Linked DNA regions of Homo sapiens: region 1 is linked to region 2. The links are contacts of gene promoters, found by promoter capture Hi-C in blood cells and fetal thymus (Javierre and others, 2016). All regions are on one chromosome and are shown on one strand. Each heading gives the region's core, a stretch centred on a gene start or on the middle of the fragment in contact. The rest is flanking DNA. Distances are from core to core; before and after follow the strand shown.

Region 1 (5,422 bases), core at 845-3,344, 570 kb after region 2:
ACCATGCCTGCCTAATTTTTTTTGTATTTTTAGTAGAGACGGGGTTTCACCATGTTGGCCAGGCTGGTCTTGAATTCCTCACCTCAGGCGATTCACCCACCTCAGCCTCCCAAAGTGCTGGGATTACAGGCGTGAGTCACCATGCCTGGCCGGATTATGAGATTCTTAATAACTACCTAAGACAAATAGCTTGATTGTAAAATTGTCACAGATAAGTTCTTAAACCTGTAAACTAGAGTACTTAAAAAAATTCCACATTGCCATTCTTGGTAGCAAAATCTTCATCACCAAGGAGACCTGGCTAGTGCTACAGCTTGGGAAGGAAACAGCCTGTGCTCAGTAATTCTACTAATTACAGCTGGGCTCCAATGACATTAATTTACTGATAACCTCATAAAGTTTTGTTTGTTCTTCCAAGAGATAACATTAGCCAGGCCACTCAAAATAACGTTAAAATTACAGGACTTTGGACTTTCGGCAGAACATGAATAGTTTTCTCGGTAAACAAGGAAGGTCTTTATATGTGATCGTGACATAGTGTTTTATTTACACAAGCTTTAGAGGGTTCAGCCTCTGGACACTAGTAAAGAACGTTTATTTATTTGGTTATTTATGTAAAAAATATTCCACAACCCAGCTCTCTGCCTTGCTAACAAAGAAATGTTTGTTTCTTAGTAAATGAAAACAGTGAAGGCCATGTCAAGCCAAATGGAGAGAATAAAATTACTGCGAGATTCTGCTTTCCACGTAACTTCAGCCAAAACTCTAAAGTGGCAAGATCCGCTTTCAGATTATATTATATCGGCCTCTGAGGATTCTATGCAGATCTGCCACCCCTTGGAGAGGTTTACAAATAGGGAACAGAAATCCATGGCTCCCAAGAAGCCCTGGCCCCTCTCCTCGCTGGGCCACGAACCACTCCCCCAGCTACAACAGCGCCGGTGGTCCCTGCTTGCCCAGTGCCAGCGCCAAAGAGGTCTTGTGCGGCAGGTGCCTCTGACCAACATCACTGTTTCCGGGGAAAGGCCACACATACCAGAAACAACTGCTCCGGCCTTCCCAGGGACACTGGGTTCTCCCACGCCAGTAACCTATTCACAGTTTCCGTTAAAAGGTAGCTAAATACACGGAATAATGCAATAGCCAAAGCGGTTTAGAAGGGGCTTGAGTTAGCATTTTAGGAACACATTACAGACAAGGGAAGTGAACAGCACCGTTTCTTGCCGAGTGTGTGGCCAGTTCCTGTGGCCATGAGGCTGCCGCTAATCTCCACTTCTCCCTCCAAGTGGAAAGCCAAACGTGTTCCACCACTTCACCAAGGGACCCGTCCTTCTTTAAATTTCTATTAGCCAAAAGTGCCAAGTTAACAAGCAAACCAAAAGAAAAAAGAAAAAAAGCGATGGAAGTGTCCCGAAAAGGGCTGGCCTCATTTCTGCAAAAGACGTGATTTGCAAACAAGCAACTGCTGCAGGCGACAGATTGTCAGTGTTGACTAATTTCCATACAAACCGGCTGTGGTTCTGATTCCCGAACACTGCGTCTTCTGCAAGGTGCCCGTCTGCAGGTTTTGCAACGCGGGACGGCCTAGGGAAGGGAGCCTGCGCTGGCAGTCACCGCGGCGCACAGCCTGAGAAACGAGGTGCGGGGCTGGGGAACCCCGCGTCCTGTTTTTCCTTCTGAAAACTAGTTCTCCAGTGTGCAGGGCTGACTCACCCCACGCTTTCCAGAATGCCCGCTCTCCGACGTCCCCAAAGCCGTCCCTTCCCCGGCGAGAAGCGCAACACCGGTCCGCGCCCTCCGCCTCCCCTGTGCCCTGGGGCCTCCCGCCTGGAACCGGGGCGGCCCGCGTTCAAGGGCAGCGGATCTGTGCGCCCGCGGCGCCCGCCCCCACCCGCTCCCACCCGCTCCCACCCGCTCCCCTCCTCTCCCCTAGAGGACACCGGCTGGCCAGGGGAAGGGAGCTCGGCCGGGACCCCTGGACCTACTCACCCAGGAGCAGCCAGAGGCCGCGCCGCGGGAGGCGGCACAGGGCCCGGGCCATGGTGCACAGCGGTGCCGAGTCGAGTCCGCTCGCCACGCGCCCCGCTGAGGACTGAGCCCGCCGCGGCGCGGGCCCGGAGGAGACGCGCCGGGGGCGGGAGCGGGCGCGGGAGCGGTGGGAGGCGGCGGCCGCGCGGCCCGGCCCACTGCGGCTCCCCGCGTGGGTGCCAGGGCCGGGGGCGCCCAGGGCCGGTAAAACTTTGCAGGGGGGCCGCGCGGGCGTCTCCAGGCCCCTCCCGGGGGGCGGCACACTTGGGGTCCCAGGAAGGCCTCCTGAAATGTTCTCCGAGCAAATAAACACTTTTTAAACTAGGGAGGGTCTCCTAGACGACTCAGCGTGAGGGGCACCTTGGTCTCCACCTGGGGATCTTCCCCTCCTCCTCCTCCGAGGTTCTGGGCGTTCCTGCCTGGTGTTTGCCTTGCAAAAGGCTAAGATCTCCCAGCCTTATCTACCTCTCCGCCCAGGTGCAGGCGCTGGGGAGCGTGGGGGGCAAAACTCGCCACCGCGCCTGGCGAGACCCGTAGTAACCCAAAATGGCGCACACTTACCAGGCCCTGGAATGCTGCTCCAGATCTGCAGGATGAGTGGGTGGGCAGAGGCGGGGACAGCACGGCAGGTGAACAGAAGCCGTGGGGCTGGAGGAACAGGGCTCTTTGGGGGGATTGAGATGGCCTGGGAGTCTTGCTGTTGATGGGTAGGTAGCGAGAGCCTGGCAGGAGGTTGTGAGGGCCTGGCCACAGAGTCTTGAGATGAGGTTTGCTTTGGTGGCACTCTGGCAGCTGCATGGAAAACTGATGGGGGATCTTGGGTACATTCGTTTATGTAAAGTGGTGAGAGGAGGGCGCTCTGGAGATGGGCCGGGGAAGCCTGCGGAGGAGCAGGTTTTGGGAGGCACAGGCCTGGCCTCTCGGCATTACTGGTGGCTGGATTTCACTTGCAGTGGTTCCTTCTTGTATTATCCTGTTCCGAGAACTCTTAGCAACAGTAAATTTATACTTGTGCTAAGGAATGCACCACTGCCCTTGGAGGGGGAAGAATCACCACCCTGGTGCTGCGGCCACAGCTGTCTCTTTTGTGGTGGAAGCTGCAAGCGCACAGCATTGCTGAGTGACCATCGTTTTCTCCTAGGAAAGGGAACAGTCTGTGGCTGAGAGGCTGCTGCCACCTGCAGTAAGCTCAGAGAAGGGGAGACAGCTGACAGCGAGGTCATCCACTGGTTCTTCTAACACAGGCTGGGAGGGCACTCAGGGCCAGCATGCCTACCACCTGTGCAGGGGCCCCAAGTGTTCTGAGAGTGAGGGGTGAGATGGTGGGGGAGGGCACACATTCTCTTGACTTGATTAGCCCTTGTTCTTGAACCCTAGGAGATACACCCCATTGGGTGGCCTGGCATCCCTACTTTCTTCATTTAACAGACATTTGTGTCCCTATGTGCAAGACACTGTTAGATCGACAAGCCCTGCCCTTCAATTGGTGAATCTAGGGGGTGACCTCTAAGACTCTCAATAACATGAGCGCCACAATACAGGAGCCACCCGGAACAAGGGACACTCGCCTCAGCTGCAGTGCAAGTAAGGAGACAAAGGATTCTGGACAAAATGCAGCCCAGGCAGTCCTGAGGGCTGGGTGGAGAGAAGGGCACAAGGGAAATGCAGGCCCGAGCACAGGCCTGGCAGCCAGAGGCCGTGCCATGTGAGAGCAGCACAGCTAGTGGGGAAGGGTGGCTGCCAGCACAGCCCTGGGACAGGGCCACCGTACATCCTGCACTAGGCGATGGCCAGTCATAGTGGGGGAGAAGAACCTGCATCTTTCTGCAGCCATCACTCGCCCTCCATATCCAGGGACTCTGGCTTGAGCCACCCTTTCTACTTGTAGCTTGTGGACTTTGGCTGCATGTTTTTGGTTGGCAACTGGGACTCCTCTTTCATCAGGCTCAGCAGGAGTCTTTCTTCCCAACGTTTTCTCTTTGAAGCTTGACTGCAAGGAGGCAAGGCCAGAGGCCCCTGTCACTGCTGTTTTCTCAACACCCCCTAAAGGATACATTTTCCTAAGAAGACAAAGCCTATTTCTCAAGTTCACATGCTTTAGAAATTCACAGTTCTCTGGAGAATGCTGAAGTAAGGCACACACCTAGAGGCATGTTCTCTCCTAATGATTTTCCTGTCTGTACCTTGGGTCTAAGTAAGACATTCCTTAGCAACTACTATGGGCTTCCCGTCTTCAAAAGTTGTAGTCTGATGTATCTGTATTTCTAATTGGTCATAGGTAGCATGGAAAATCATTCCTCTCCCAGGGTACCTCAATCTAGAGGGGCATTAGGTTAAACAATAGAAGAGATTAGAAAATGGCCAAGTGCTTTACTGCATACACAGTAGGGCTAAAGATACAATCAAAGCCTGGTCAACACTGCTAAAAATTCACTATTAACATAAGATTCCTGCTTCCAGCCGAGATGAAGTTACAGGGACTGGACTCACCTTCCCATCTTAAACTAAAAAACTGGACAAAATGTATGAAACAACAGTTGTCACAGTGGACCACAAGAAGTGCAGGGACCCCTGAGAGCAGGGAAACAAATAAGGTGAGTGCTACAACTGCTCACTGCCTGGAGTTTGCAGACCACAGATGGAGAAAGGAAACCCAAAGAGAGTCTGGGGAAGCCAGGCAGTTAACGCTGGCAGGGCATAGTACCAGAGAGGAAAGAGCTGCGCAAAGAATGCGCTTGCGAGATCACAGAGGGTCCCACTTGAGTCTCAGCCCACACATCTAAGGACACTACCCAAGGGAAAAGAGCCTAAGAGCCCACACCCAGCTGGGAATAGTTCCAGTTCCCACCAACCATAGTGGAAAAATCTTGAAATACACAGAACATCAGAGCATAATTAGAAGGGCAAGTCCCTCTCTGTAGTCAGTAAAAATTACAAAGGCTATTCTGGTGCTGCCTAACAAAACTTAAAAGCAAGAACTAACAGGAGCAAATGATTTCCAAGTAGCTATTACATCCCGTAACTTAAAAACAATAAAAGAACAAAGCATCAGAGAGCCATGAGGCAACTCCAGGTGGCAACTCTAAGGTGTAACTGGAGCCCCTGGAGGAAGATGGGTGGGAAATATGTGAAAAACCACTATGTGGAACATTTTCTATTAACCCATGAGCCAAGAACATCCCCAAACTCCAAGCACAAAAATCATTTAGAAAAATATGTGAAAGCACATCACGATCAAATTGCCTAAAGCCAGTAATAAAGAGAAAACCTTAAAAGCAGCCAGAGAGAGAAGACATTACGTATAGCAGGGGTCCCCCAACCCCACAGGAGTACCAGATCATGGCCTGTTAGGAACCTGGCCTCACAGCAGGAGGTGAGCAGCGGGTGAGCTAGT
Region 2 (5,008 bases), core at 287-2,786:
CAAAAATTAGCCGGGCATGATGCCAGCACCTGTAATCCCAGCTACTAGGGAGGCTGAGGCCAGAGCATCGCTTGAACCCCCGAGGCGGAGGCTGCAGTGGGCCGAGATCACGCCACTGCACTCCACCCTGGGCAACAAGAGCGAAACTCCGTCTCAAAAAAAAAGGAGACCTGTGCAGCCGACAAAGCCAGTGTTTATTCCCCAGGAACTCTCTTTATACTGGGAAGTAGCTGTTGGTCCTCTTTTTCCCACGGAACACGCATCATTCCGTCTCTCACTCTCACATGAGATGACATCCTAGACCCTAAGGTCCTGGCTGTCTCTGAAGTCAAAGTCAACGCCAACCAAAGCCCAGGATGGTAGATGCTTTGTCTGGCTTTTTCTGGTCACTGCAGTATCCTCTGCTGGGTCTAGCCAACAGCAGGTCTTCAATACAAGTCTGTTAAATGATTGGAAGGAGGTGCAGAGGGAGGGATGGATGGAAAAGCCTATCTGCACCAGTCTCCAAGTCAATCTTTTAAGATGTTTAAGAAATGTATTGGTTTATTACTAAGTAGGAGAGGAACCCCTCCAAAGACAAATATAGGCATGTAAAGAAAGCCCAGAACACACGAAACTATTGGCGCGAATGGCAAGCTCAGAAATCCAGCAAGAAGGAACTCCCACCACACCACCGGGAAACGGGAACCTGTCCTGACCGCTTCCTTCACATCTGCATGGTAGGGACACTGCAAGGTGGAGACCCTAAGTAGGACAGTTATTTTGGAAGGTGGGTGTGAGCCTTTCTATCTGCCTCCCTTGCTGGTGGGCCAAAGGCCCCTGGACATGTTGTGTCACTGACGAGCTCGCTGGAGACGGCGTCCCCGTTGTCCCTGGTCTGTGCCTGTGGTGGGTGGGAAGGCTGCCCCCCGCTGTACCACCGGACACGCCGTGGGCGGCAGAATGGTGAAAAAGTGCCTGCCCTCCCTAGGGCTACCCTCTGGCTGGCTTTCCTGATCCGTGCGCTCAGAGCTGGAAGGTGGCCCACGTCCTACTTTTGCGGTTGGGTCATATCAAATCTGTATCGGCTAACGGGAAGGAAGTTACGAGCAAGTTCCACCGGAAAGAAAATCTAGCGCGGGGACTGCACTCGAGGCCGAGGAGAGGGCAGCGCGTCCGTGGTGGGGTCGCCCAGCACTGCGAGCCGCGCTGAACCCCACCCCCGGCCTGCAGGGTGCGGCTCCCTGGCTGCCCCGTGGACCCGGCCAGCCCGGGACGAGGACGCAGGACCTCGGCAGGGACGCCGGAGCCAGCCCTTCGCCATCCCCACACGCCCCGCGGCCCAGTGGCCGCGCGCACGTTACCTGCGGAGCCCGGCCCTGCCCGCCCGTCTGGGCTGCCGCCCTCCGCCATGGATGCTTCCGCCTCCGCGGCCGCCCCTGACCCGCGCACGCCCCTCGGGCAGGAAGCAGAACGACCCGCGACCACTTCCGGCGCCGAGGGCAATGGGGGGCGCGTCGGGGTCGCGGCTTCCGGCGGGCGCGCGCCGGCCTCACTGGTTTCCGGGGCCGCGCAGGGGCCACGCCTCCGCTTCCGGCCTCGCTGTCTAGCAGGGCGCTGGCTGGTCCCTTCGTCCGGCGGGAACTTCGCGGCTAACCGACTCTCTGGATGCCGGCCGCGCTGTGGTTTCCTCACATAAGAAGCCAAGGAGTCGGAAAGCCCGTTGCCTGAGGCAGCAGTCTGGGAATTTCGGTCCGGCGGGCCGTCCCCACCCACACGGACGGGGCGTGGCTTCTGCCAGATGTGGGCGGGGCCCCGAGGGCCGTGGCGGGCGGGACCCGGGCCTCGGCCGGGCTGGCTTGGTCCCCGCAGGTGCCCCCCGCTAGCCACGAGCAGCCCCGGGAGGGTGGATTCGGAGGCGCGGGGACTGGTGAGGGCCCACTGCAGGGCTGAGCGTCGCAGCGTGCTGTGGTTTTAGATGAATGCTCCTCCAAATCCCTTCCATGAAGCCCTCAATCAGGTCGGTAACTGATGACAGCCAGTGGCTGACGCGAAGTTCATTGAATAAATGAATGCATTCGTGAACAACCGAGTAACATTTCTTGCACACTCCCAACTTCAAATATCGCAGCGTCGTCCCACCATGAGTATTGGTGTTGGTCCTAAAGCACGGATTCCCTTGGCTCCTCCCATTCTCCCCTGCTGAGTTAGACAGCGGGGCCTCATGCAGGAGGAGGATTTGTACACAGCACAGCAGGAGGCTGATGAGGGAGTCCGGAGACCCCAGCAGTCGTGGGCGTGAGCTGCTGGCTCATCCGTGTGTACAACATTCCAGACTGGAGTAAGGGAAGCCGCAGGCGCAGCCCCGCGAGTGCCCCTGCTGAGGCTGGCCCTGGGTGGCCCAGATGCACCAGGGGGCCCACTGGGGGCAGACCTGGCAGGCCCTGTGGGGGTTGGAGGCGGGAGTGGGGGTACTTCCTACAGTGGTGTTTGGTCTTGATGACAGCAGAGAGCACCACTGGCATGAGGGACAGGTGACTCCGATGATGACGCTGCCAGGCCAGGAGCCAGGGGTGTGCCCAGCCCCTGGCTCCACCACAGCTGCACATCCCGAACTCGGAGCTTCAGCAACTCCGAAGCCTGAAGCCGCCTCACGTGTTGTTGGATGGATGAATGGATAAACGAAATGCCGTCCATCCATACAATGGAATCGTACTCAGCCTTAGAAAGGAAATGCTGTCCGTCCATACAATGGATTCGTACTCAGCCTTAGAAAGGAAGGGAATCCTGACACACGTCACAACACGGATGACCTTGAAGACGTTATGCTGAGTGAGATAAGCCAGCCACAAAAAGACAAATACAGTACTGTGTGATTCCAATTATTTGAGGTCCCTGGAGCAGTGAAATGGTGGAGCGGAATGGGGGTTGCCAAGGGCTGGGGGAGTGGGGAATGAGGAGTTAGTTTTTCATGGGGACAGAGCTTCAGTTGAGGAAGATGAAAAAGTTTTGGAGACGGGTCACACAGCAATGTGAATTGTGCATTAACAGTACTGAACTGCGCATTTAAAGCAGGTTAAGTTTTATGTTCTATATATTTTACCACAATTGTTTTAAAGAATTTTTTAAAAGAGGTTCCGGTGCAGTCAGTCAGGGGTGCGGGTTGGGTGTTGGGTGGTTCAGAGCACCCAGGTGATTCTAAAGTGCAGCCTGGTGAGAGCCACGTCTCCGGGGGCCTCCGCTGCTCTGCCTGCCTGGTCCCGGTGGGCTCACAGTGAGCGTTCTGCGTGTCGGTAGCCTTTGCATCAAGGTATTGAGTCCCTGAGCAGAGTGGCCCTCCTGCACCTGCACCTCCACCTTCCCTGCCACGTGTTGCCCTTGGGATCCTGCCTCTTAGAAGAACCTGAGGCCGCACGTGGTCTGTAGCGGGGAGGTGGCCTCACATGCCCACCTCCGTGCCTCCTAAATGCCCACATGGTGCAGGGCAGTGTCCACAGAGCCAGCAGTGCTGGAGGGGGAAGGACACTCAATTGCTGGCCACTCTGCCAATACCATCACCCCCATTTCTCAGGACCCTGAGATCTGGGGGCCTGGTGCTATGCCCAAAACCACATAGCCCACAGGTGGCTGAGTTGGGATCACATCCAGACTGTCCAGCCCTACAGCCTGTCTCCCCCTCTGACCTCACCTCTCCAGAGTCCCTCTTCTTCCAGGTCCTCTGAGCCCAAAAGACCCACCAACACAGGGACACTCAGTGACCGCTAGAGATGAAGCAACTTGGGTCCCATCACCTACAAGCAACAGGGATTTACCAGTGCCTACCAGTGCCATCCCAGCCCAGCACAGCAGCAACAGGACCAGTGCAGTGGGCTGTCTTGCCCCTCCAGGTCCCAGTGGCTCCCTCCCGTTTTCCCACCCCTAAAATCACCCGTCGCTTCCTGTTGCCTCCTGGAGGCTCAGGCCTCCCCCAAAGTGTCCCCAGTGACCCCTCTGTGGAGCCTAGCCCAGTCTTTGTGGTGGAAAATTTGGCAGTCTAGCTAAAGCATAAGAATGAATAATCCTTGATCAGAAATGCCTCTTCCAGGCATTCATTCTAGGGAAATAATCAGATGTGGGGGAGATTCAGCTACAGTAGTGCTCATTACCATCATTTTATAACAAAAATGTCCAACAATGGACTTTCTGGTTCAGGAGGTCTGAGAAGGGGCCCCCATCCCTCATCCTTCCTGTTGCAGGGAACTGGGGGCCCCTCTGGAAGCATGGCAGGTATATGGGGGGCTGGAAACATGAGCTCCACAGCTGCAGGCTGGTGAGGATCCTGCTGGGCCTGGGTGTGCTGGTGCTGCTGTCGCTTAACCCCCACAGCTGTCTCCGGGAATTGGGCAGCAGATGTCACCCAGGCAGGGACCAGAAATGGGAATCTCTCCTGATCCTAGGCCCTGTGGGCCTGTGTTTGGGGTGTCTCCTCCCAGGAGGCCCAGCCCTCTCTTCCCCTTTGAAGGATCTCCTGCTTTGAAGGAAGCAGGGGATCTGAAGGTTTACCAGGTGAGGCCACGAGATGAGGGCAGCCCGCTGACCCTCCAGGCTTTGCCCTGGAAACATCTTTACCAGCCCCTGCCCCGCAGACCCTGTCTCAGGCCTTGGAGCCCACCTGCAGAGAGTCAGGGTGTCTGCCCCAAGCTAGGGAGGCAGATCCACATCCTTCCAGCTGAGTCACCAGGACAGGGTGACTCCTCTGAGCACCAGCTGCCTCCCTGTCAAATCGGGCTGATAATACCCACTTTGCAGGCTTTGTAAAGACACAAAATCCCATAGAATGTGCCACAGGCTTCCTGGGGCAGAGAGAGCCTCAGGACACAGTGGGCATCGGTGCCATGGCTGCTAACGCTATGGCATGGCTTTGCTGAGTGGAGCCACGCCCACCTCCAGCCTCCCACCCCACCCCACCCTGTCCTAAACTGAGCCCACCTTCTCTGCCCAGCTTGGAACAGAGCAGGGCTCAGGGGTAGACGCAGTGTCCCAGCAGGCC

What was found. Contacts are between HindIII fragments. The CHiCAGO score rates a contact against its expected background, and 5 or more counts as called.
Region 1: the fragment with the promoter of RAMP1 here is called in contact with the fragment with the promoter of ASB1 in region 2 in 4 of 17 cell types (naive B cells, total B cells, erythroblasts and 1 more); the score reaches 8.6 in naive B cells.

Annotation. Positions count from the first base shown.
Region 1 is chr2:237,856,295-237,861,716 of GRCh38, reverse strand. RAMP1 (receptor activity modifying protein 1) reads right to left here and starts at 2,094. Exons shown (of 3, transcript NM_005855.4): 1 at 1,990-2,094. The coding sequence starts at 2,041. RefSeq lists enhancers at 2,707-3,493, 3,494-4,282. The HindIII fragment of the contact is 3,458 bases long and covers 558-4,015 here.
Region 2 is chr2:238,423,455-238,428,462 of GRCh38, reverse strand. ASB1 (ankyrin repeat and SOCS box containing 1) reads right to left here and starts at 1,536. Exons shown (of 5, transcript NM_001040445.3): 1 at 1,344-1,536. The coding sequence starts at 1,392. LOC124908002 (a long non-coding RNA gene) reads left to right here and starts at 1,569. Exons shown (of 2, transcript XR_007088163.1): 1 at 1,569-5,008. RefSeq lists enhancers at 788-907, 2,420-2,955 and silencers at 1,158-1,677, 1,698-2,087. The HindIII fragment of the contact is 6,850 bases long and covers 1-5,008 here.